Linked DNA regions of Homo sapiens: regions 2, 3, 4, 5 and 6 are each linked to region 1. Evidence: promoter capture Hi-C in 16 types of primary human blood cells and fetal thymus (Javierre and others, 2016). All regions are on one chromosome and are shown on one strand. The core of a region is centred on a gene start or on the middle of the fragment in contact, and the rest is flanking DNA. Distances in the headings are between cores, read along the strand shown.

Region 1 (3,190 bases), core at 276-2,775:
GGAAAAGAGTGTCCAACATGGTAAAGAATGTCAATTTATCCCTACCCTTTCATTGCCCCTACTTTCTTTTAAACTTGCATATTAATCATTTGATACTGTTTTTGGGTGAGATAAATACTTGCTTCCCGCAATAGGTGACAGATGAAAGGATTTTATTGTCATATACTAAGAGTGGCATCAGCAGATAAGTGGAACTGTACCTAATTACTGCCAGAAAAGGCAGTTCAGGGTGAACTCCTTTAAAACAAAAATTATCACCCTTTGTATAATTTCTCTAACATCAAATTGACTTATATCCAAGAATCACAGAGCGGATCAAATCATTCAGTTCTTTGGGACTATAATTAACATCCAATTCAACTTAGAAGGTTCATAAGGAAATTCCGCGGCTCAAAATTAGGCGTTAGGTGGGCATTTTACTGAGGGTTTTTTCCCTACGGCCACATGAACAATAAGTAACCCGTCCTTTAAACATTTTTCACACTAAACATTATGCCATGTTCCAAGGCACAGACCATTGCAGCCTCCGTCCCCTCAGCGGCGTAAACACTTGGAATGGGCATGCTGCCCCGTTACTTAGTATTGAGAAGTGGTCACTTTTTGCTCTTCTTAGGTGAGTGTAAGCGACTGCCTTCCCCACTTTAGGTGAACCCCAGGACTTGGAGCGTCTGTGGGTGCTCCTCTAATGGGGACAACTCCTCCCTTCCGACTCCATCGCAGAGAACCCAAAGTTCGAAACCAACAGAACGAAAAGCAACGAAGCACACTTAAAGTGAGGAACCCGGCAAGCGGCGAAATTCTTGCTGAAGAGAAGAAAAAGCGAAAGGTTTTCCGCTGCAACCAATCAGATGAGAGGATTCTTGGCACGCCCCTTTCTATCTACCAATCAACATCTAGCTCAATGGGGCAGTCCATTGCCACAGGGAAAGGGCTTGGTGCAGCTTCCCTCACAACACACACGTCATTCTAGGCCATTCCACGAACTGTGCTCAAAAGAGGAAAACAGTGCAACAGTTCCAAAGCTGATCAGTCTCGTGGTGAGCAGCGAAACTATAGACTTCTCTAACAAAACCATGGATTCTAGGAGGGACTGGGAAAGAGAAAAACGAATTCTGGAAGGCAAACTACAACTCCCAAAGGCCCTTGCGCGGACTCAGCGCGCGAGGGACGAAGGGCGGTCCACTGTAAGGGGAAATGCTGAGGATCACTGGGCTCCTCCCGGCTTTCTGAACGCAAGCCAGCAAGTGGGCGGGACCTGGGGCGGGCGGAGCGGCGAGAGCATCTGCTCCTGCGCTTTGTGGTCTCCTGCCTCCGGCTTCTCCGCCTGCGACGTCGAAGGGGGCGTGGCCTGCGCAGAGGCTGGTGGGGGTGCGGGCGCCGCGGGACTTGGGTGACGCGTCCCTTTCCAGCTCAGCGGTGTGTGAGGTGTCGCGGCCCCGCCGGCGATTGGCTGTTGAGAGGCGAGTACGCGGCGGCCGTTGGTCGCTGGCCTCACGGAGCAAGGCCCCCGGCGGGCGGGGAGGATATGGGGCGGCAGTGGCGGCTGCAGGAGGCGGGCGTGGACGAGCCGGTGGCTGCAGCGGCGGCGGTCCCCGGAGTCCTGTGAAGCGCCCCTGTCCGCGCCTCTGTGGGGCCCTCAGAGAGGGCTGCCAGGACGCGAGCCACTGAGGAGCCGCTCAGCCAGCGCCATAGCCCTTAGGACTATCGGTCACATTCTCGCGCTCCTGCTCCGGCTCCTCCATCTTGGCCTCGGCAGTGGCGGCTGCCGGGAGGATGTGCCGCCTTCTGGCAGGGGGAAGAAGGAGGAGAAGATGAAGAAGCACCGGCGGGCCTTGGCCCTGGTCTCCTGCCTCTTTCTGTGCTCTCTGGTCTGGTGAGTAGCCGCGACGACAAGGGAGTTCCCGTGAGGGGAGTAAATGGGAGGGAGCAGCCCAGGTCACACCCCCTGGTCATTTTGGCTTTTAGGGTCCGGGTTTCCAAGGCCCCCGTGGAAGGGACAAACCGATTACTTCTCGACTCTCCATCTGACTGGTCTGGTAGTGCTCTGTGCGGAGATTTTCATGGTGTATTTTGGAATTTACAGAGACTCAGTGGGAGAGAGAGAGGTGCCAAGGTAGAGGGAACCACCAAGTGCCTTTGTACTCAGTTCCTCTACCCCTTGGAGACGGTGCAGGGTTTGGGGTGGGTGTTCAGATTGATGGTAAGTAAGTTGCTCCGATTTGCCGCCAGTCTTTGCGTTCTTAGTGTGGTAAGGGGATAAAGCACGTCGGATGTGATGCGTTCCGGACGTGCGATTTTAAAACGTGAGTGGTCATGAAGGTAAGAGTAATGTATAAGCAGTAGTTCTCCTGGACATTTCTCGCACAGCGTTTGATCCCAAGTACACTCGGGCCGCTGTTTTTGGAAACTTGGGGGGCGTGTGTGTATGTGTGTTATGAAGCACTTTTTCAATTGGTTTGGTGGAGAGGGTGTCTTAGATGTAGTGTGTGTAGTAGTTTTTGGTAATGCCCCTTAGTGACGGGAAGGTAAATGCTGTATTTTCAAGGCGGGAAGAGTGCTTTGTCCCTAAAGCACTCCTTAAGTTTTACGGAGTTTCTGTTAATCCCAGGCACTTCTGGAGTTTTTTGAGGAGCAGAGAAAGCTTGTAAGTCGAGGGACTGCTGTCACCGTACTTGGAAAAGCCATTCTTTCCTCCCAGGGAATTTCTTCAAAGATGTGTGACAATTGATGACTGAAAAGATGCTTCTTCAGTCTAGGCGATTTGCTGTTTGTTATATTAAAATAGAAATTAAGTTTCCTGTTTTGCTTATTTCTGCAAAGCACCAACACTATTTTCATTTTTATGGATGCCTTATGGATTCCAGAAGCACTGAAATTGTAGAGTTGTTGCTCACATAAAATAATACATAAACAAGGGGAAGAGAAAACACTCGCCTGGCTGAGGGATTTTTATTGGAAGAATGATAGAAGTTTTTGAGAACAAAAACAATTGACTTATTACCTTTCATTCTGAATCCTTTTAATACCCGTCTCCTGTTTTTAATAAAATCCTCCCCTTTCTACTTACTGTGTTGGGTACGGAGAAGTGCCTGTAAGAGATAAATCCACTCACCTCATTTTAAATTTAAATTTGTAGATACTGAAGCTTGTATTCATTTCCATCTCTTTCTGGGGCTGCCTAGTTATATTT
Region 2 (3,540 bases), core at 532-3,031, 1.0 Mb before region 1:
ACTACTAGCTGTCACAGCTAGAACCTTTTTCACATGACAGTCTGGGTCTGTATTCTGCATTTATGAAATCCAGTTTCTGAACTGTTAATATGACTGTATAACTAATTGTTTAATTCTGCCTAGCATTCTAAGACCTTTAAAAATCTTGGTCATGGAATACATTGGTACTCCTTCAGATGTATATATTATTTCATATGCCATGTTTACTTTCCAAGTCTTTATTCAAGTTATTGACATGGAAAAGGACAGGGTCCAACATATCCAGGCCAAATTATTTCATATTGACCACATTCTTTTAAATATAAAATGATTTTCTACTTCAAACATTGTGTGATTCTCATTTGTATTAAGTTTATTTAAGGAGAAGTATGTAAATGACTAGTACTTTCAGTAGTCTTAAAAAATCAAGTGGATTGAGGGAAGGAAGTGACTAAATTTTTTTAAGGTTTATATTTTGTGGATGCTGATTCACTTGGAACTAGGAGTGTGGTGAATATTTGGGCTTTTTTATTTTAAATGGGCAATTTAGTTAAAATTTGAGTGATAAAATTCTGGTTTTTGAAGTTAATGCATCAGTCTCCCCTCATCATAGTTCAGGCTGCCATAACAAAATAGTATAGACTGGATGGCTTAAAAAACAGAAATTTATTTCTGACAGTTTTGGAGGCTGGAAGTCTGAGATCAGGGTGCCAGCATAGTAGTTCTGGTGAGGGCTCTTCCTAGCTTGCACACAGCCACCTTCTGACTGTATTCTCTAATGGAGAAGAGAGCAAGCTCTGGTATCTCTTTTTATAAGGACACTAATCCCCTCATGGCCCGTACAACCTCATCTAAATCTAATTACCTCACCAAGGCCCCATCTCCAAATATCAGCCCAGGGGATTTAGGGATTCAACATATGAATGTCAGGGGGGCACCCATCAGTCCATCAGCACCCCTGCCCCCTTTACGATTTTTAGAGCTTTGATTTTTGTGCCTTTTTTTTTTTTTTTTTTTTTTTTGCAGGGTCTCCCCCTGTTGCCCTGGCTGGAGTACAGTGGTGCTATCTTGGCTCACTACAGCCTCTGCCTCCCGGGTGCAAGCGATTCTCTTGCCTCAGCCTCCCTAGTAGCTGAGACTACAGGTGCACGCCACCACACCCAGCTAATTTTTGTATTTTTAGTAGAGATGGTATTTTGCCATGTTGGCCAGGCTGGTCTGGAAGTCCTGACCTCAAGTGATCCACCTGCCTTGGCCTCCCAGAGTGCTAGGATTACAGATGTGAGCCACTGCGCCTGGCCTGATTCTTGTTTTTTACAAGTTACAAAAATAATACAAAGAATTACCATATTCCTTCATTCAGATTCCCCACTTGTTAATATTTTACCATATTTACTTTATTATTTTCTGTATAGTATGCACATAGGCACACACATGCACTCTGTGCTTGGTTTTTAATGGCTGCTGTCTAAACCCTGTCATCACCAGAAACTTTAAATTTATTTCACAAGCTCTTATTCCTTACTTGTATTACAAAATGACATTTCTAGCAGCAAATCGATACATTTGGGGCGTGTGTGTGTGTGTGTGTGTGTGTGTGTGTGTGTGTGTTTTGTTTTGACAAGGTCTCACTCTGTTACCCAGGCTAGAGTGCAGTGGTGCAATCATTGGCTCACTGTAGCCTCAACCTCCCAGGCTCAAGCGATCCTCCTGCTTCAATCTCCTGGTTGGGACCACACGCATGTGCCACCACACCTGGCTATTTTTTTGGTAGAGACAAGGTCTCTCCATGTTGCTCAGGCTGGTCTCAAACTCCATTGCTCAAGCTATCCTCCCACCTCTGCCTCCCAGAGTGCTGGGATTACAAGCATGAGCCACCATGCCCCACCAATACATTTGTTAATAGAGATGTTGCTATGTTTTGTTGCTATTGTGTTTTATCTTTGATATCTTATTCTATATTGTAATGCAGTATGTTTGATAATGAAAACATGAATCATTTAGGGTCTCTTAAGTGACATTTATTGTTTTATATTTCAGTTTGTTAATTTCTCAAAATGAAAGTTCAATCCTGATTTTTTAAATAATGAGATTATGTTGGGCACTGGCTTTGAAGTCAGCCTGGATTTAATCTTGACTCTACCACTTTCCAGCTCTGTGTGTTTTGAGCAAATTACTTTACTTCTCTAAGATTGCTTCTTCATTGGTAATTTTCAGTGATTTAGGCTTTAAGCCCTTCTTAGTCCTAATCTGGTTTTTATTTTTATTTTTATTTATTTATTTTGAGACAGGGTCTTACTCTGTCTATTGCCGAGGCTGTAATACAGTGGCACAGTCATGGCTCACTGTAGCCTCAACCTCCTAGGCTCAAGCGATCCTTCTGTCTCAGTCTCCTGAGCATCTGGGAGACAGGCATGTGCCACCAGGCCTGGCTAAATTTTATTTTTTGTAGAGATGAGGTCTCACCATGTTACCCAGATTGGTCTTGAACTCCTGGGCTCAAGTGGTCCTCCCACCTTCGCCTTTCAAAGTGCTGGTATTACAGGTGTAAGCCACTGCGCGTGGCCCTAATCGGGTATTTTTACGTTATACTATATCTTTGGAGCTCAGATTTTGGTGGGGCAGTGGGGGGATACAAGGTCTCCTTTTGTCCCCCAGGCTGGAGTGCAGTGGCACAATCATGGCTCACTGTAGCCTCAACCTCCTAGGCTCCAGTGAGCCTCCCATCTTGGCCTGCCAAGTAGCTGGGACTACAGGCATGAGCCACCATACCCAGCTAATTTTTTTTTTTTTTTTTTTTTTTTAAGAAAAGACAAAGTCTTGCTGTGTTGCCCAGGCTGGTCTTGAACTCCTGAGCTCAAGCCATCCTTCCGCCTCGGCTTCCGAAATTCCTGGAATTACAGGCATGAGCCACTATGCCCTGCCAATAATTACTATTTTATTGCTAGAGCTTTTAGTCAACCTTAACTGAAATCACCAGTCCTTTCTGCTCTCCTCCTCATTCTCTTCTGACTTCCTCTCTTAGTCCATTCATGCTGCTGTAACAAAATGCCTGAGACTGGGTAACTTATAAATAACAGAAATTAATTTCTGTTGGTACTGAAGGCTGGAAAGTCCAAGATCAAGTTATCGACAGGCAGGATCTCCGCCTCCAAGATGGCACCTTGTTCATGTCCTCAGATGACAGAAGTGCATAGCTAGTTCCCTCCAGCCCTTTCATAAGGCACACATCACATCTGTGAGGGCAGAGCCCACATGGCCCAATCACCTCCTAAAGACCCCACCTCTTAAAAGTGTTGCATTGGGGGTTAAGTTTCAGCATGAAATTTGGAAGAAACATAGGCATTCAAACCATTTTCTTTCACTGTCTGGATTAGACTTCAGTAAAACATTACTCCAGAAATTCTGGCAGTATCTTCATCCACCTTGCTTTTCTTTACTAGTTTACTGATTACTGGTGCAACTCTAATCTCTGATTCAGTCCATCTGCTTTTGTGCTTCCTACCACTCCCAACTCCCTGGATGTCCTACTGGACATTGAAGAGAATCGTAACTGCACAA
Region 3 (3,329 bases), core at 667-3,166, 1.6 Mb after region 1:
TGTTTTATTTTTGTAGAGTCAAGGGTCTCACCATGTTGCTCAGGCTAGTCTCCAACTCCTGGCCTCAGGCAGTCCTTGCGCCTCAGCCTCTCGAAGTGCTGGGATTACAGGCCTGAGCCAACGGTGCTTGTCCCATTTTTTTTTTTTTTCACCTGAGTTATTTGATGGGAATTTCTATATATTACAGTTGCGATGTTCTGAGAATTTTTGTTTCTTTGATAATTGTTTCATGATTTAGATGTTTTCTTTTTACGCTGGTAGTTATGATTTTTTTTTCCTTTGAATGAAAGAATTTTATTAGGCATGTGAAACAGGAGTTTTCATGTGATCAGCTCTCCAGTTCTAAATTTGTGACTTTTAAAAAACTTGAATTTTTTTCTTTGCCTTAACCCAAACTTGAATTTGCTCAGCCATTGTATATTTATTTGAACTCTCAGATGATACAGCATTGAAGCAGAAAGTCCTTTTATCCATGCTTTTGGAGTAATCAAAAGAAGGAATTCTGTTGTGCCAAGTAAAAATATGTGTGGGAGATAGCTAGGCTTCAAGAGATTGACTTTGAAGAGAGTAGTGGCTAAGTAGCAAAAATTTCCTATATTGAAGGTGTAGAAGTGGGCCTGCATTCCAACCTACCATTGTCTTCAAGTGGGGTATGGATCATTATGACTGGTTAGAGGGGGTTTGGAGAATGAAGTTGTTGCTGTAAGCCTATGGGATTCCCAGGCACAGAGCTTGCTTATGTCTTAATTTTAATGAGTTCTATATTTTTATAACTCTTGACTTATATAAATGGGTCAGCCGTTGAGTCTGAGGATGACCAGCAGCCCAAGGCTATTCCAGGTGCTGGTATTTCTTTTTTTTTTTTTTTCTCTTTCTGTTTTTTTTTTTTTTTTTTTTTTTTTTAATTATACTTTAAGTTTTAGGGTACATGTGCACATTGTGCAGGTTAGTTACATATGTATACATGTGCCATGCTGGGAATTGAACAATGAGATCACATGGACACAGGAAGGGGAATATCACACTCTGGGGACTGTGGTGGGGAGGGGGGAGGGGGGAGGGATAGCATTGGGAGATATACCTAATGCTAGATGATGAGTTAGTGGGTGCAGCGCACCAGGTGCTGGTATTTCAAAGATGGCTCAGGGGTTTCTTGTGGAGATGATCTGATGAGCATTTTGCCATTACAAACAGTGGAGGCGGAGAAAGTACGGACTTGAGCCTGAGTTATGGTAAAACATACTCATTTTTAAAGGAGAGTTTTAATGCTGATATTATAGAGAAAGACATTGTTTGACTCCTAGACTTTCAGAACGGGAAATAATTTTGACTTTATAGTCAGTATTTGAATTGGGTATAAGTATGTGAACATCAGTGGACCCTAATAAGGAAGAGTTAATGAATTAAGAAGAGCTTGCATCTCTGAACATCTTCTTTTTATACTTCGTTTACTTCCCATATTGCTCTTATTCAACAGATGGGATGGCATAATTGGGTATACGAAGTTTATGCGCATGCTAACTCTTTTTTGTTATCTTTTGGTGTTTTTTGGTGTACTTTTTGGGGATTTTCCTGGGAAAGTTCTAGGCATATATTCAGTTGATTTAGAGTTAGATTTGGGCTAAGATTATTAGTATACTTGAAATTCTGAGCCTTCTTATTTTCTAAATAGCTTTTAAAGTAGAAAACATTTGCCAGTGCTGTTGGGCTTAAAAAAAAAAAAAACCCAACAACAACACAATTCTTTATAAATACTCATGAAAAATCTGGTTACAGGCTGTGTTGTGATAGACATAGTACAGCCAAAAATATATTTAAGAAAATTCTCACCCAGTTTAGTAAGCTTAAATAAGAGGAAAATAAGACAGTTTTTTTTTTTAATAAAAGGCTGATTTTCCCAGAATATGAAGCCTAACAACTGTTTGCTGTGTTATTTTCCCTGTTGCCTGTTCTAAATTCAGCAAGAACTATGCATCCCTAGTCCATGGTAAAAGCTTAGTTCCAGTAGGTGATTCTTAGTAATGGAAGTCTCATTGAGGGATGCAAGGGAATTTGATTGGGAAACATCAGGCATGGAACATTTACTTTTTACTGCTCTAATTTTCTGTGTATCTGGGTATTCAGTGGGGTGGGAACATGAGCACAAATACTAGAATTATCTGGATTTTTTTTTTATACTATGGATTTCCTCCTCTTACCCCCTACCTGCCCCCCAACCCATTGCTAAGTGAGCCATTGATAGTAGGAGTGTGTTATATCCTTCAGGTATGTAGGGCTGAACAAATGCTAAAAACCTTGGCACTTGGCTGATATTCCATAAACCAAATTCCTGCTCTGTGTAATTTGCCTTCTGGTGATATCAGTTTGTTACTCCCATTTTTGAAGAAAAATATGAATTGTGGTGAAGAGACATCTGTAACCAAGAGTAAGATTTATCAAATTATGTAGTATACATGAAGGACACCAGGAGATTGTTTACCTGAACATTTATTAAACTCATTTGACTGTGACCCACAATAAAAAATACATTTTACTACTTGATTCCGCAAGCGCACACACACACAAAGTTGAAAGTTTGGTGAAATAATATTTATCTTTTCAGGGCCCTACTGAGTTAGCTATAATGGCTTGCAAGACCAGTTGTGCATATTTCTTCCTATCTAGCTCTTTGTCCAGTGACATCATGTTGGTAGCTCAAAATTGGTCATGGTGGGAATATTTACACCAGGAAATTCAGCAAATGGTATTCTTAGGGCTTCCCTCCTCATAGGTAGTTGTTAAACATTTATAGCACCCCACTGCTTATAACACACATTGATATATTCTGTTATTTCATTTCATTTTAAAAATGCTGGGTTTTGACTTCCAAATTAATTTTACACCCAGCTAATGGATTATAGCCTACATTTAACAACAAATACAACTAGTTTAGCCTACCCTCTTAACTTTGTAAGTGAAGGAACATACTAAGAGCCTCAAGGCCAAGGTCAGATAGTGAGTTATTAGCAAAGCCAGGGCTCTGGACTCAATCTGGAGTTGTTTCTGGTGGGCTTCTTTCCTAACCTCACTTAGTGTGTATAAGGGATTGTGTTAATCAGTTTGAATAAAGATGGACCTTGACCCTGAGGACTTTATGCTTAGGTGGGGGATTAAATATGGAAACAACAGTGATAATGAAAGGCAGAAAGTAATGGGTGGTAAAAAGATAAAGATAAGGAACTATAAGAGTTTAGAGAGGAGGGAGAGATTACTTTTATTTTTGTTTGTTTGTTTGTTTTTCGTTTTTGACCCAGGCTGGAGTACAGTGGTACAATCTCGGCTCACTGCAA
Region 4 (3,131 bases), core at 528-3,027, 1.5 Mb after region 1:
GGTGGGGTTTCACTCTATTGCCCAGGCTGGTCTGGAACTCCTGGCTTCATGAGATCCTCCTGCCTTGGCCTCCTAAAGTGCTAGGATTACAGGCTTGAGCCACTGTACTCAACTTAAGTTGTTCTTATAACTAAATTATAATTATGTATATTAATAAAATTTTCCTTAAGGAGGGGAGATTAATAACAAAATTTTAAATTTTTTTTGTACTTAGATCTCCTATAACCCCATTAGAAATATTTACTAAGAACATAAAGTGACTTTTGTTTCTCATAAATTTTAAGATTTCAATTCAATTAGATAAAGTACCATTTTGAATTTAAGATAACAATATATTTCTAAAGCCCCAAATGGAAATGTCAATCTTAGCAGTAACTCTAAAGTCCAAGTTTATTACCCTTTATTCTAGAAAGAAAAAAAAAAACTAATTTTGTCTCCCTCAGTCAGCCAATTAAAACAATCCAAAAAAGCTTACTAAACAACTGCCTTTGTAACACTGTTCATGTTTTTAGAGGTGATCAGGTATAGGGCCAAGATCAAGGTTTCTAACACTTATTCAACAAGGGATTAAAAGCAGAGTGCCACGCAAATCAAAACTCTAAATATTCTCAAAGATTAGCTGAATAAAATAGTCATAAAGTTAGATTCACAGGGATCAAAGAGCTTCAAATTCTAAAAATCGTTTCCCAGTGTAACTTCAAATAAATCCTTTGTGAATATTCCTAGTTTCTTCTATACATTAAGAAAACCTAAAAGGCAAACAAGTTCTAGATAGGAGACCAAGTATTAGTTGTTCACATTTGTATAGAACATTAAATTTTAGTTCTTATAACCCAATGAAGAAATACAAATGAGTCTAAGAGTTTGAGCAAAACCCTCTGGGGTGATCAAAACAAAACTGCAAACTTCTATGAGTCTCAACTTTTCTTCCATAAAGAGTCCCTGGCAGCATGTCTACTGTACTTAGAGAAGCATGCAAAGAATTAGGTGGTTTTTTATTCCTAACAATCACATCCCAAAGTTTTTTCTGCAATTTCAATTGTACAGAGTACTCTTCCTCGATGTTGGCTCAAATTAGAGACAGAAAGCAGAATGGCGTTTGCTAGGGATTAGGGAAGAGGGGAATACAGAGTAACTGCTTAATGGGTACAGTGTTTCCTTTTGGGGTAATGAACACATTCTGGAATTAGAGCTGGTGGTTGAACAACATTGTGAATGTATAAAGTGCCACCTAAACTGTTTACTTTAAAATGGTTAATGTTATGTGACTTAACCTCAATAAAAAAAATTATGTTAATCTGTAGATAAAACTGACCCCTTTAGAACTCTTTTCTTGCTCAAAAAAAAAAAAAAAAAAAAAAAAAAACTGCTACCATGTTCAAATGCTATTTAGATCTTGGAAATTTTTTAGATAAAATGCACTTATAAGTTAAATTATTACCACATGTGCACAGTAATAATCAGTGAAGGTATACCAGTGTCAGTTTAAAACATTGTTATGCCTGTAATCTCAGCACTTTGGGAGGCAGAAGTGGGAGGATCACCTTGCTCCCAGGAGTTTGAGACCACCCTGGGCAACACAGCAAAATGCTATCTCTATAAAAATAATAAAAATTAAAAAAAGTAGCCAGGTAAGGCGGGAATAACACTTAAACCAAGGAGTTTGAGGCTGAAGTGAGCTATGATAATGCCACTGCACTCCAGCCTGGGTGACAGACCATGAGTGACTCTGTCATTCATTCATAATATATACATACAGCATTGCTAAAATGCTTGATAACTGTCAAAAGAATATTGCTCTGACATACATCTGCAAATAAGTAAGGTGACTTTAAATTTGAGGAAAATTCTTTCCCCAAGCCTCAATCAGGAAAACAATATAAACTAATAAGAAGTATCTAATAAACAAAAAGTAAACAAGAATATTATATAAGTAAACAGGCACAATCCTGACCAAAAATGGACAGAAATAAATATGCTAAAGTTAAGTGTCTGGGGGATGTAGGGCAACATTACTTCAGATTGGTAAATGTCACACTTCAAAAATAGAAGGAATCTACCTTAAGAAACTCTGTAGTAAGAAAACCTCCTTTGTATAAATGCCTGACAAAATTAATCTTTTATCATAACCTCTAAAGCTAGTCCAAATCCAGCCTAGATTCCAGAATTACACAAAAGAAAAAATCTTGGAGACGGTTCTGGGAAAAGGCTGACCAAAATCTGTGACTGTTTTGATACAGGCCAATCTGAGAATTTTAATCCCTCTGAACCCAATCCTGCAGAATACCTGAACCCTGAGCACAGACGGGGCCAAAGCTAAACCAGGTCAGAATACCCTGCCAAGGAACATCCTGATCTGAGGTGTTCACCAAACAGGGATCATTTATCAGTTTATTCTTCACTTTGTTGGATGCTGACCATTTTCAAGATATATGCAAGAGTGGACTGATTAGACCCATCAGAATCCATTTCAAGCCCTAAGATCTGGAGATGAAAAATACTGCAGAATTCTAAATTATCTATGGCTTAAAGAAAAAAAATTATAAATTAAGAACTTCAAATATTAGCTGACCCAACTTTAACATCATTGAATATCTTTAATTATTTAAAAAAATTTATAAAGTATTTCAAAGGCACAATTTAGTAATTGCCTATGTAACAAATTAACCATGAAAACAATTACAGCAGTATGATAAATCTGTCCTATGTAAACAGTATGAGTTTTTATATTTTATAGCATTCAGATATGCTAAAAACAAAAATTTAAGTGTTTCTTTTGTGATTCACATGAACAAATACTTTCTTGGTCTTACAAGTAGATATCTGACAGGATACAAATAATGATAATAGGGTAAGTTCACAGGCAAAAAAAGGAATCTGTCAACACAGAAGATGCTTCAAAGTTTAACTGTGACACATGTGGTAGTGGCAAAGAATCTAATTTGTGTCACAAGATCTGAGTCTGAGTAAGCTCTTTTACCTATTAATTATGTGATCTTTTTGCTGGTTACATAGCTACTCTTAGCTTCACATTCTTCATATGAAAAAATGAGGACAACAGAACTAATACTGCAGCATAATGAGGAAGCTTAAATATTTTTATTCATTCAACAAATATGTTCTGAAAGGCG
Region 5 (3,163 bases), core at 534-3,033, 1.1 Mb before region 1:
AATCTGAGGAAACAATCCAGCCCTGCCTACTTCTCTCAACCCCTACTGCAGGATTCAAGCCTCCTCTCACTACTCCTTGGATTATCATTACAGCCCCTGAAACAGCTGCTCTTGTGCCAGGCAAACCATTCTTCACATTTCAGCTAAAGAAAAGCTTCAGACATTAACCATTTACAGCTCCAGCAGCTAGCACAATCACTGGTACATAGTTTATACTCAATTAATACTTGTTGAAAGAAAAAGTCACTAAGGAATAAAATATATTAAGCTGTCTTTCCTATGTGATATCATAAAACTTACACATTTTATCTAGATTACGTAATATCCCAGTTTAAATCTAATCATTGGCTCCTATTGCCCTCAGTCATACAAAGTCAGTTTACATGACTTTTTGCAATCTGGTCTCTGATCATCTCTGAAGTTTTGCTTTTTTGCCCCTTTTTTCACCTTTCTCCCCCCTCCACCTCTTCCCTTTTACTTTATGAACAACAGAGCTATCAAGATGCTTTTTAAAATCCTCAAACATGCCATGCTCCATTTGGCTTTTGGGATCTTTCCATACGCTGGTCTCTCTGCCTGAAACATTCTTCACCCTTCACTATATGCAAGTTAACTGCCTCCCTTTCCCCAAAACTTGCCCCATCACTTCCTGTCATATCTGCACACACACACATACAGACACACACCCTCACTCATAACATATATTCACATGAGTATCTAATTCCTATAAACTGTTGGGGCTTAATTCTGGGCAGAAATGTAGTTATAAGCATTAATCAGGCTGCGCTATGACCCACTTCCTTGTAAGTGAAAGTCGCATAACAGTAGATACTGACCATTTGCGTCTTGATTTTCCCTATAGATAGGATTTCTAACATTAAAATCATTAGGCTTTTAAGAACCGCTTAAAGTCGGGCACGGCTGCTCATGCCTGTAATCCCAGCACTTTGGGAGGCTAAGGTGGGCAGATCACCTAAGTTCAGGAGTTCAAGACTAGCCTGGCCAACATGGTGAAACCCTGTCTCTGCTAAAAATACGAAAATTAGCCAGGTGTGGTGGTGGGCATCTGTAATCCCAGCTACTTGGGAGGCAGAGGCACAAGAATCACTTGAACCCAGGAGGCAGAGGTTGCAGTGAGCTGGGATCTCACCATTACACTCCAGCCTGGGTGACAAGAGCGAGACTCTGTCTCAAAAAACAAACAAAAAAAAACTGCTTAAACAGATCCTGAATTCCAGACAGAACAGCTGACACCAACTAGTTTAAAGATCTCCACAGAGCAGCCTAGTCAGCATGAGAATATGGTTTCTTCATCTCCTGCCCCATGACTTTACTCTGCACTCTTCAACCAATCAACTATCTCTACACTTCTGCCCACTCTGAAACCCTTAAAAACCCAAGCCCTAAACTCCTCATGGCCCAATGATTAAATCTTTCTCTGCTGCAACCCTGCATATTGACTTGCAATAGATCTATTATGGCTACATTCCCTGACCCCCACCATCCCTGCAAATGTGGGTTAGGTGCCTTCCTTTGGACTCACAAGGCACTTTTAATTCTCTCATCAGAGAATTTATCACCTGTGATGGTTATTTTTCTGTGTCAACTTGGCTGGGCTACTATGTCAATATTTGGTCAAACATTATCCTGAATGTTTCTATAAAAGAGGTGTTTTTTGTTTGTTTGTTTATTTGTTTTTTGAGACAGAGTCTCGCTTTGTTGCCCAGGGTAGAGTGTGGTGGCCCAATCTCGGCTCACTGCAACCACCACCTCCCAGGTTCGATCAATTCTCCTGCGTCAGCCTCCCAAGTAGGTGGGATTACAGGCATGCGCCATCACACCTGGCTAAGTTTTGTATTTTTAGTAGAGCTGAGGTTTCACCATGTTGGCCAGTGTGGTCTCAAACTCCTAACCTCAAGTGATCCACCTGCCTTGGCCTTCCAAAGTGCTGGGATTACAGGCATGAGCTGCTTCATCCGGCCTATAAAAGTGTTTTTGTTTTGTGGGAGGGGGTGGGGGGGTGATTATATTAACTGTAAATGGATGTATTTTGACCTTCATAATGTGAGTGGGCCTCATACAATCAAGTGAAGGCCTAATGGAAAAAAGACTGATCTCCCCCAAAGGAATTCTTAAGTGTGGCAGCCTTTTGACTTAAACTACAACTTTGTCTCTTCCCTGGGTCTCCAGCCTGTTGGTCTACGTATCCTATTGGTTCTGTTTCTCTGAAGGACCCTGACTAATATGTCACTTTTAATCATAATTACTTATAATTTCACCCCACTCTCATCCCACTTGAATAGAATCTCCTGAGAACAGGAATTTAAACTGTTTTATTCATTTTTATGTCTTCCTTAGCCTGATATATCATGACTTTTTTTTTTTTTTTTTTTTTTTTTTTTGACAGAGTTTTGCTCTGTTTTCCAGGCTGGAAAGCAGTGGCAAGATCATAGCTCACTGCAGCCTCAAACGCCTGGGGTCAAGAGATCCTCCAGCCTCAGCCTCTCAAGTAGCTGAGATTATAGGCACACACCTGGCTAATACATAGGTAATATGGAATATTGTTCTTTTGTTTTTTATGGAATATTGAAATGAAGAGTTTCATTTCACTGCAATTCCCCAAGGCTGCTAAATACTTTGAGATGCTTTCTCTCAATTCTCTTTCAATCACTATTCCCCTTTCTCTCTTCTATCAAGACCATGCCCTATGAAGTTAACAATGGTCCAACCTCTAGAGAATTGCACTAATTCCCATTTGAAGCAATTATTCACTAAGACTCTCAGCAGCTCATAGAAATATTTCTGAAACAATCATTTAATTAACCCCAGCAGAAAAAAGAATAGAGAAGAGCCTGTAGTCCCAGCTACTCTGGAGGCTGAGGCAGGAGAATGGCGTGAACCCAGGAGGTGGAGCTTGCAGTGAGCCGAGATTGCGCCACTGCACTCCAGTCTGGGTGACAGAGCGAGGGTCCATCTCAAAAAAAAAAAAAAATAGAGAAGAGAAAGAGAAACAAACCAAAAAACCAAACTAGGTACAAGCTACTGGTGGCATTGTAACATATGAAATTCTCTCTTCCACCACAAGCCTAAAAATTATTCAAAATACCTAGTCCCAATGGTAACCAAAAAAAGTACTATCAATCTTACTTCTCTTAATTACTAT
Region 6 (3,377 bases), core at 417-2,916, 1.5 Mb after region 1:
GTTTCCCCACCAGTTTAAATAAGGACACCTCTCCTACAAAAATGACGAGATTTTACTGTTGATAATTGCTAATACAGAATATACATGATAATTAAATAGCAATCAGTTCAAGGGTCTGACCTAAGACCCAAGTTCAAAAATACCATATAATTTCCCCAATTATATATACACATTTTTACACCACTAAAGAGTGCTCACAGAAAACACTGAAAAGACTGCTTTATTCAGTTATATGCCTTGTTCATGGCATTGACTGAAGCTACAGTACAGAATATCACATCTGACATTTCACTATTAATTTATCCCAATGTCTAAATTCTGGTTAAGAACCACCACTTTCTTAAATCTCTAAACTTTTATCACTAATATTACCATTTGACTTTACTCAGGTTTTTTTTCTTAACAAAGAAATAAAGATCTTATTATCAAAATAAAAAAATTATTTCAGCTAGGTGCTGTGGTTCACGCCTGCAATCTCAGCACTTTTGGGTGGCTGAGGTGGGAGGATCACTTGAGACCAGGAGTTTGAGATCAACCTGGCCAAAAAGGCAAGACCTTGTCTCTATAAGCAAAATAAAAAATGAGCAGAGTGTGGTGGCACGTACTTGTAGTCCCAGCTACTCAGGAGGCTGAGGTGGGAGGTATGCTTGATCCCAGGAGTTCAAGGTTTCAGTGAGCTATGACCACACCACTGCACTGCAGCCTGGGCAACACAGAGAAACCCCATCTCTAAAAAAAAAAACTGTTGGGCGTGGTGGCTCACACCTGTAATCCCAGGACTTTGGGAGGCTGAGGTTGGCAGATCACCTGAGGTCAGGAGTTTGAGACCAGCTTGACCAACATAGAGAAACCCTGTCTCTACTAAAAATACAAAAATTAGCAGGCACATGCCTGTAATCCCAGCTACTCGCGAGGCCAAGGCAGGAGAATCACTTGAACCTGGGAGGCAGAGGTTGCGGTGAGCCGAGATCGTGCCATTGCACTCCAGCCTGGGCAATGAGAGCAAAACTCCACCAAAAAAAAAAAAAAGAGAGAGAGAGAAAGAAAGATATGAATTATAAACAACAAGGCTACTTGCTTGGGTCCACCAGCTAAGTAACTAGTTTGTAGATACCAAACTCCAAGTCTTACAGCTCCCTTAGCTGTTAAATTCAAATGTATGCCTCTGCAAAATAACAAATAACTACATATTGTGAGCATCGATGTTTAAGTATGATTAAAACATTGTCAATGAGCAACTACAGACAAAATTGTGATGACATGATGCATCTGGAAAGACGTAGAACAGCTTTGTTTTCTGAAAATCAATCATGTGTCAGTCACTGTGCTAGGTGTTTTCAGATGTTTCTCTTATTTAAATATCCACAATGTGGACTACCACCAATAACCAACATTTGTGAAGCAAAAACTAGGATATTATACTTTCAGTGCTCTATATACAGTATCTAATTAATGTTCACAGTAACACTGTAATGTAGTTATTATGCCCATTTTAAAGATAAGGAAACCAAAGTACCCAAGTCACAAAGCTAGAAAGTGGCACGACTAAGACTCAAACTCAGGACAGCCAAACTCCCAGGCTGGTACTTTGAAACTCTATAATTTGTGCCACCACACGAATAAAAGTTTATAGTAATTATGGCAAGGGAGCTCTTGGGAGTGACAGAAATGCCTTAAAATTGTATGGTAGTAATGGTTGCACAACTCTGTAAATTTACTAAAAATCATTTGTGTATTTAAAATAAGTGAATTCTATGGTATGTAAATTATACTTCAATAAAGCTGTTAAAATAGTCATTAAGGGCTTTTTAATAGTCTTAGTTTTCAAAAATGTTAAGTAATAATGTAGAAACATAGAAACTATTCGAATCTGTTCTATGAGCACAGCAATAGCCCTATTAAATAGCTAAATTACATTGCTGTGAAGATTTCATTTAAACATATGACACATTTATTACCATCTCCTTTATTATAGGTTCATTTTATATGTTCCTGATTTAGAGAGAGAAAAATGGAAATTAAAATTCAACTATCTACTCTGAGCCAGGCACTCCTCTGAGGCATTACTATGCCCATTTTACAGAAGATAACTTGAGGTTTGGCGGCATTAAGTAACGGCCCCAAATCAATAAACTGTTGAGCTGGGATTAACACCAGGTCTTACATATCTGAAATATAAGTTGGCCTGTGAAAAATGTTTTTATCAAACAAAACCACACTGTCTGTAAGAAGAAAATCTTGGCTCTCTTCCCACTATGCCCGATGAGATGAGATTTTAACTCATTATTCTTGACCTTAACTTAATTTTTCATTTCTCTGGAACATTTCCATAGCAACCAGCATGTAGGGCCACATCAGAGAAGAGAAAATGTTTCACTGCCTTGAAAAATGAAGCTAGAAGCAGGAGATAAAAACACAAAGAAGAAAACTAATGAAGGCCTATTATAACACTTAATTTTTTAATCCTCAGCAGAGCATCAACTAATTTACAGTGGAAATAGAGTCTAAAATTTGAGGCTCAAGGTTTTTCCAGCAATAATATCTTGTGAACAAAGACCCAGTTTTGATTGTAAAAATACATCTTCCCAAAATGTATGGACTGAATTGTAACCCTATATATACAAAATCCTGGATGTAAATAATTTAATATGATTATGTTAGTACAAATGGATAAATACTTGGGACAGGCATAAAGAGAAGGGCTTCTGAGTTAGAGGGAAAAAATAGCTTGAAAAATAGAACTTGATAAAGAAAGGTGGAGGAAAGTTCAAGGGGTTAATTCAGGTTGCTTACTTTTTCAGCGTTCAGAGGCAAAAAGAAAAATTTCTATCTCCAACCTAATACCAGATTGAGGAGAAGTAGTAAGAAAGGACAAAATCATTCATGGAGAAGCCGCCTGACCTGAGTTTGAAACAGAGTGCCTGAGAAAGTAAGACAGTCTTTAACTTTACGTATGTAGTTTGAATCTCCAGGTTCAAGTTATGCATTATATACAAATGTGCTACACTAAAGAGGGCATTAGCCCTCATTAATTATCAAAGAGGTGGCAGAATGATGTGACCAGACTCAAAGGCATCATCTTTTTTTGTTTTTGTGTTTTTGACACAGATTCTCATTCTGTTGCCCAGGCTGGAGTACAGTGGCACGATTTTGGCTCACTGCAACCTCCACCTCCTAGGTTCAAGCCATTCTCATGCAGAGTAGCTGGGATTACAGATGTGCAACACCATGCCTGGCTAATTTTTGCATTTTTAGTAGAGATGGGGTTTCACCACGTAGGCCAGGTCTCAAACTCCTGGTCTCAAGTGATCAGCCTCAGCCTCCCAAAGTGCAGGGATTATATAGGCATGAGCCACCACGCCCAGCCAAAAGCACCA

What was found. The method cuts DNA at HindIII sites, captures the fragments that hold promoters and counts their contacts. A CHiCAGO score of 5 or more calls a contact.
Region 2: a fragment that was not itself captured here is called in contact with the fragment with the promoter of SUCO in region 1 in 1 of 17 cell types (neutrophils); the score reaches 5.6 in neutrophils.
Region 3: a contact is called between a fragment that was not itself captured here and the fragment with the promoter of SUCO in region 1, in 2 of 17 cell types (fetal thymus and total CD8 T cells). The highest score is 6.9, in fetal thymus.
Region 4: a contact is called between a fragment that was not itself captured here and the fragment with the promoter of SUCO in region 1, in 2 of 17 cell types (total B cells and total CD4 T cells). The highest score is 6.7, in total B cells.
Region 5: a fragment that was not itself captured here is called in contact with the fragment with the promoter of SUCO in region 1 in 1 of 17 cell types (neutrophils); the score reaches 6.1 in neutrophils.
Region 6: a fragment that was not itself captured here is called in contact with the fragment with the promoter of SUCO in region 1 in 1 of 17 cell types (monocytes); the score reaches 5.3 in monocytes.

The regions. Positions count from the first base shown.
Region 1 is chr1:172,531,625-172,534,814 of GRCh38, forward strand. It overlaps SUCO (SUN domain containing ossification factor), which reads left to right and starts at 1,526. Exons shown (of 24, transcript NM_014283.5): 1 at 1,526-1,873. The coding sequence starts at 1,812. RefSeq lists enhancers at 725-834, 895-1,144, 1,755-1,914 and a silencer at 1,465-1,634. The HindIII fragment of the contact is 4,223 bases long and covers 1-2,639 here.
Region 2 is chr1:171,495,223-171,498,762 of GRCh38, forward strand. All of the region lies in intron 1 of PRRC2C (proline rich coiled-coil 2C), which reads left to right. Among named protein-coding and RNA genes, the nearest start is that of PRRC2C, 11 kb to the left of the region's middle. The HindIII fragment of the contact is 4,223 bases long and covers 1-3,540 here.
Region 3 is chr1:174,161,901-174,165,229 of GRCh38, forward strand. All of the region lies in intron 1 of RABGAP1L (RAB GTPase activating protein 1 like), which reads left to right. Among named protein-coding and RNA genes, the nearest start is that of RABGAP1L, 4.0 kb to the left of the region's middle. The HindIII fragment of the contact is 151 bases long and covers 1,842-1,992 here.
Region 4 is chr1:174,016,445-174,019,575 of GRCh38, forward strand. All of the region lies in intron 1 of RC3H1 (ring finger and CCCH-type domains 1), which reads right to left. Among named protein-coding and RNA genes, the nearest start is that of RC3H1, 4.3 kb to the right of the region's middle. The HindIII fragment of the contact is 2,618 bases long and covers 469-3,086 here.
Region 5 is chr1:171,476,711-171,479,873 of GRCh38, forward strand. No RefSeq gene overlaps it. Among named protein-coding and RNA genes, the nearest start is that of PRRC2C, 7.2 kb to the right of the region's middle. The HindIII fragment of the contact is 3,263 bases long and covers 153-3,163 here.
Region 6 is chr1:173,998,364-174,001,740 of GRCh38, forward strand. The region is part of intron 1 of RC3H1 (ring finger and CCCH-type domains 1); the gene reads right to left. Among named protein-coding and RNA genes, the nearest start is that of RC3H1, 22 kb to the right of the region's middle. The HindIII fragment of the contact is 4,144 bases long and covers 1-3,377 here.